Linked DNA regions of Homo sapiens: region 1 is linked to region 2. Evidence: promoter capture Hi-C in 16 types of primary human blood cells and fetal thymus (Javierre and others, 2016). All regions are on one chromosome and are shown on one strand. Each heading gives the region's core, a stretch centred on a gene start or on the middle of the fragment in contact. The rest is flanking DNA. Distances are from core to core; before and after follow the strand shown. Region 1 has its middle 56 kb from the start of HEMK2. Region 2 holds the start of HEMK2 (HemK methyltransferase 2, ETF1 glutamine and histone H4 lysine).

Region 1 (3,059 bases), core at 421-2,920, 56 kb after region 2:
CCCTGCAACTCTGCCTCCCAGGTTCAAGTGATTCTCCTGCCTCAGCCTCCTGAGTAGCTGGGATTACAGGCGCCCGCTACCACGCCCAGCTAATTTTTGTATTTTTAGTAGAGACGGGGGTTTCGCCATCTTGGCCAGGCTGGTCTTGAACTGCTGACCTCAAGTGATCCACCCACCTCGGCCTCCCAAAGTGCTGGGATTATAAGCATGAGCCATAGCTCCCAGCTAATACTGTTCTTTTTTGTGAGTTTTAATCACTAAGTTTCTTCTGTTTGCGTAGCTATGACACATGGCATCCCTCCTGCCCCTACAAATTGATTTCTACTCCTTTACTGAATACCAGTGGTCCTGGGCTCATAAATCTACAAAGTGGAATCCAGAAGAAATCAGAATAAAAGACAATACATATTTTAAAAAATTTTCTACAGATGGATAGAATACTAATTTTCCATTTCCTTTCTTCCTTTCACCTTCTATTCTTTCTGATACCATTCTTTTTTTTTTTTTTTTTTAAAGATGGAGTCTTGCTCTGTCACCCAGGCTGGAGTGCAGTGGCACGAACTTGGCTCACTGCAACTTCCTCCTCCTGGGTTCAAGCGATTCTCCTGCCTCAGCCTCCCAAGTAGCTGGGATTGCATGCGCCTGCCACCATGCCCGGCTAATTTTTTGTATTTTTAGTAGAGACAGTGTTTCACCATGTTAGCCAGAATGGTCTTGATCTCTTGACCTCATGATCTGCCCACCTTGGTCTCCCAAAGTGCTGGGATTACAGGCGTGAGCCACGCGCCTGGCCTCCATCCATACATTTTTTTAAAAAATAAACAACATTTTGAAGATATTGTAGAGTCTGTTCTCACACTGCTATAAAGAACTACCTGACCTGGATAATTTATGAAGAAAGAGGTTTAATTGACTCACAGTTCCATAGGCTGTACAGGAAGCATGGCTGGAAGGTCTCAGGAAACTTACCGTCATGGCAGAAGGTGAAGGGGAAGCAAGCACGTCTCACCATGGTAGAAAGAGAGAGAGAGTGAAGGGGGGGAAGTGCCACACACCTTTAAACATTTATCAGATCTCGTGAGAACTTACTATCGCAAGAGCAAGGGAGAAATCTGCCCCCATGATCCAATTACCTCCCACCAGATCCCTCCCCCAACATTGGGAATTACAGTTTGACATGAGATTTGAGTGGGGACACAGAGCCAAACCATATCAAATATTTTCTGCCGTAAGTGTCTGGATGTACCATACCCAGGGTTCTCAGTTTTAGATAACATAATTGTTATCTAATTATACAGATATAAGATATACTCTCAGCCTGGAGGACTAGTCTCTGGCAAGAATTCAGGGAGACAAAATGTGGCTAAGATCTTAGTGTAGGAAGAGCCCACCCTTCTCTGACTGGGAGCAGACAGATCTTCTCCCTCTTAGGATTCCGTATTGGGAGTTGGGACCTCTGCCTACCATCTTTCCAGGAATTTTCTCCAAATGAACAGGACATTTCATGACAGTTTGCCAAAATGAAACACGTTCATTATAATGGGTATCAATGAAATTTTCACTCTGATATGAACCACATCTTTGTTTTCCAAAGTTTTAGAAACAGAGTGTATGTTCTTGTAAACTAATTGGTCTAGGGAAAATACCTCTTTGAGAGGACATAATTAACTCTCCCTACTCAGATGTCTTAAAATCCATGGAGTTTTGTCTTAAAAAGAATTGCTGCAGCTGAGAATGGGATACTGCCTTAGTCTGTTTTGTGCAGCTGTAACAGAATACCTGAGACTGGATAATTTGTAATGAACAGAAATTTATTGGTTCATAGTTCTTTAGTTGGGAAGTCCAAGATTGAAGCACTGGTATCTATCAGGGACCTTCTTGCTGTGTCATCTCATGGTGAAAGGCATAGGATGTCAGAGGGCAAAAAGAGGATGGGAGAGAGGAAAGGTGACTGACCTTATTTTATAAGGAACCTACTTCCACACATTCATCTATTCATAAATGCAGAGCCCTCATGTTCTAATTACCTCTCATTGGAACCTACCTCCCAACAAACACTGTTGCATTAAAGGTTAAGTTTCCAACATATGCTTTCTGAGGGACACATTCAAACCTTAGCAGATACCAAGGGGCAACTCACAACTAACAAGACTTGGGTAATGGTAGATGACTAAGTGCTTACTGTGTAATTAGCAATTTCACTTGTTCTAAAGAAGCATTTCTCAAGAGACAGCTGCAGTCCATCTTCATCAAAATCGTTAAAAATGAAGATTGTTGAGGATCCCTCCAGGCCTTCAGAATTAGAAATTTTAAGAGGAGCTCTTGAAGTCAGCAATTTTTATAAATCCCCAGATGAACTTTAAACCCACTAAAGTTTGAGAAACACCAGGAATGTAAAGGAATGCAGGTCTATTAAAAATTGTTAAAGCTCTTGTTAAAATCACTCATTTTCAGCCTGTCCTCTCCCTGCTTATAATAATCACTGTATATATAGTTTTATTAAATATTGCATTTATATTTTACTAAGAAAGATGCTATTCTAAGGCTTAATGAATTAAAAAAAACAGGTTGTTGCAGCTGAGTCGGTTTCTTCACAGAGATGGATATTCGTAAAGTGTTAGGTGGCTATTTGGGTGAAAGATCAACAAGCCCACTGGAAACTTTTGGAAGGTGAGCTGGCATGGAATTTCTGGAAGAAAGGGAACATTTTCTGACAGCAGTTGGTCAATGCAGAACTTTCAGATAATGATGGATTGGCAGTCGAAGGGCTACCTAAGCTAAGTGTCACCAAAGTGCCTTTGGTCTGTTTGACCTGCTTAGTGTCTAGTAGCTTCTTAGTTTAGAAAAAACTGAAGGCTGCTTCAATTTATTTACAAATGTGTTGTTCGGAACTGGTGCCACTATTATGAGTGTTCACCTAGTAGTTCTTAGAGCCTCATTCGTATTAGAGTTACCTACATTCTCTACTTCTTGTTGGCACATGAAGCATTAAAATGAGGGCTTCAAGGTCACTTTAGAGGAGAAAAGCCCCTCAAATCAACTCCCCTCTTTCCTTAGCT
Region 2 (3,035 bases), core at 236-2,735:
TCAAAACATAAATCTCATATAATGTTGACTGAAAAAGAAATTTGAAAAATATGTCCAACCTAGTACCAGTTATGTAAATTTTAAAATACACCGTATGTTGCTTATAAAGATATGAATGTTTATAAACGTATAAATACAAGATCCATGTTTTTACATGGATTAGATGGACATACACTAAATCCATAAGAGCCTTGGAGAGAATGTTACACAATTAAACTGAAGGCAAATAGAGAAAGAACATCCATCTTATTTGTAATATTTTAGTTCTTGTATTTAAAAAATATTTTAAGGAAACATGAGAAAATACTGTCATTTCTGGGTTTAAAACTTGGGGTTTTGAAATTTGTAACCCAGCCGGGTGCGTTAAAGGCTCACACCTGTAATCTCAGCACTTTGAGAGCCCAAGGCGGGTGGATCACCTGAAGTCAGCAGTTTGAGACCAGCCTGGCCAACATGGGGAAAATCCGTCTCTACTAAAAATACAAAAATTAGGCAGCCGTGGCTGCAGGCGCCTGTAATCCCAGCTACTCCGGAGGCTGAGGCAGGAGAACCGCTTGAACCTGGGAGGCAGAGGTTGCAGTGAGCCTAGCTCGCGCCACTGCACTCCAGCCTGGGGGATACAGCGAGACTCTGTCTCCAAAAAAAAAAAATACATAAGTAGAAATAAAATAAAATAAAATTTGTACCTCAAATACTTTTCTGTATTTTTATTTCTCAAATTTAAAAAACGAGCTGTAAAAATGTTTCATTGCGAAACAAATTTCAGAAATTGACTCAAAAAGAATGCAAATACTTGAATAGTCTAATAACTTACAGATGTTCCAAAACATCAAAGATCCATTCACTCAAAAAGGCACCAAGCCCAGCCAGTTTTAAGGCTTTCTACCTAATGTTCCAGAAACAGTGTCCTAACTCACATAACGAGGGTAGCGTAATCTTGGTAAAAAAAAACGGAGCCAGATTATTAGCCTCCCCAATTCAGCAGTGTATTAAACCGCATCATCTTGCTTAAGGTTTATAAAAAGAGTGCATTCATGATTCATCAGGAAGGCAATTTATAAAGTACAGTAAAAAAACGAGGAAAGTCTTCATCTTTATAGCGTAAAGCTTAAAGTTCAGCTGACAAAAAAACAGTAAAATTTATTATGTATTTTTTCAAATCCTTGCAAACTAGGAATAAAACAGAATTTCCAAATATCATTAGAATGAAGAAAGAACATTCACCTTAGTCAAAAACAACTCAGAATGCCCACTATCAGGTTCTAGTTCACAGAATAAAATTTAAATGTTCCAAAGAAGAAAGCAAATGTCAATAGTCACGGATTATACAACTGTCTACTTAGCAATTTCAAGGAGAGCCACTGACAAATTTAGAATTAAGACCCAACAACAACACACTGGTCGCCCGGGACGCCAGCCCCACTCCTAGGCCTGCGCATGAGGGTGAGGGCATGCGCATGCGCATGCGCACGCCCTGCGCACGCGCATGGAACGCAGCGAAGGACTATGGCAGGGGAGAACTTCGCTACGCCGTTCCACGGGCACGTGGGCCGCGGCGCCTTCAGCGACGTGTACGAGCCCGCGGAGGACACGTTTCTGCTTTTGGACGCGCTGGAGGCAGCGGCTGCCGAACTGGCAGGGTGCGAGGAGGGGAGGGGCTCTGACGGGAAAGGGTTGCGGCTTTCTGAAGAAGTGCGGTGGAGGAGGGCCGGAACGGTGACTATCACCGCCCTGAGCCGGAGCAGGCGGGGTCCACTTGCAGATGATTGACAGCCAGGACGCCGTAATTGAGAATTTTCCTGTAGCTACAAGTAATGAGTGTGCCGGGGACGCATCTCCTTTGCCAGGGGGCTGCTCTGTCTCATGAGCTCCCTGACTGCTTACCATGCAAAGGCGTATCTTTTCCTGTCGCCTGTTAATCTGAAGAACACATGTCCCTGAGAGAAGCGATAGTATAACACGTTTGGAAACAAAATATTCCGGAAACATTGCTTATTAATATTTTTAAAGTATTACATATTAAAATTGCATGGTATTATTTGATTTACTCAGCACATAGAAAGCACCCTTAACAAACATGAAAGAAAGTTGTGTTACTGGAGTGGGGAAATATTTTTAAACCCACTGAATAGCATACTCTAGCACCAGCCAGTCCTCACATGTGGCTACAGAGCGCTTGAAATGTGGCTAGTGCTATTGAGGAACTGAATTTTTCATTTAATTGTTACCAAAAAAAAGTTACATGCAGCTAGCAGACAATAGTCTACCCTAGCACTTTATTTAAATGGATTTATTGAAGTGATCGCCATCAATTTTAAATTAATAGCAGAAGGAATGAATACTGACATTGTGATTTTTAAATGTAAGGAATTTGGGTTGTTAGATTTGTTTGAAGATAAGATGAACTGGGTTTTCTCAGGATGGAACAAACAGCTTTCAGGTTTCAAAGATCTATATTGTATTTATTTATCCCTCTTAAACTTGGTCATATTTCTCCAGTATAAAATGTCCCAGCTCTTATTAAACTAGTCTTTCATTGTAGATGATGGAACTTTTGGATCTACTGGAATATACAGTGGAACAGTACTGTTTTATAACTTGTCTTTTCTTCTCAAGATAGCCCAGAAAGATTTACAAGCACAAATTGCACTGCAAAGTATGCTGTAAAAGGAGCTGATTTTGTTATAAAGTCTTGGGTTATTTCTAGTTTGGAATTCTAATTATTTATGAGACCATGATAGTTATTTTCAAAGAGAAGCCACCTGGTGAGATTCTCAGACCTTACTACCACCTAATAAAGACTTGTCAGATGTGTAGACTGGTTCCAAAAGTTTAAAACCTCTGGAGCTTGTCACTGGGTAGTTGTTTTGGGAGTTCAGTGCTAAAAATTTCCCTAAATGCCATCAAGCTGATCTTTTTAATGGGGATGATTTATGCTTTTGATGCATGTATAACATTATAGAGGGCTGGCACTGTGGTTCGTGCCTATAGTCCTAACTACTTGGGAGGCTGAGGTGGGAGGATCACTTGAGCAA

Evidence for each region. The method cuts DNA at HindIII sites, captures the fragments that hold promoters and counts their contacts. A CHiCAGO score of 5 or more calls a contact.
Region 1: a fragment that was not itself captured here is called in contact with the fragment with the promoter of HEMK2 in region 2 in 1 of 17 cell types (non-activated CD4 T cells); the score reaches 5.1 in non-activated CD4 T cells.

Annotation. Positions count from the first base shown.
Region 1 is chr21:28,828,331-28,831,389 of GRCh38, reverse strand. It overlaps a transcript of HEMK2 not described here. Among named protein-coding and RNA genes, the nearest start is that of HEMK2, 56 kb to the left of the region's middle. The HindIII fragment of the contact is 4,724 bases long and covers 1-3,059 here.
Region 2 is chr21:28,883,817-28,886,851 of GRCh38, reverse strand. HEMK2 (HemK methyltransferase 2, ETF1 glutamine and histone H4 lysine) reads left to right here and starts at 1,485. Exons shown (of 6, transcript NM_013240.6): 1 at 1,485-1,640. The coding sequence starts at 1,507. RefSeq lists enhancers at 1,068-1,626, 1,572-1,631, 1,627-2,186. The HindIII fragment of the contact is 10,284 bases long and covers 1,110-3,035 here.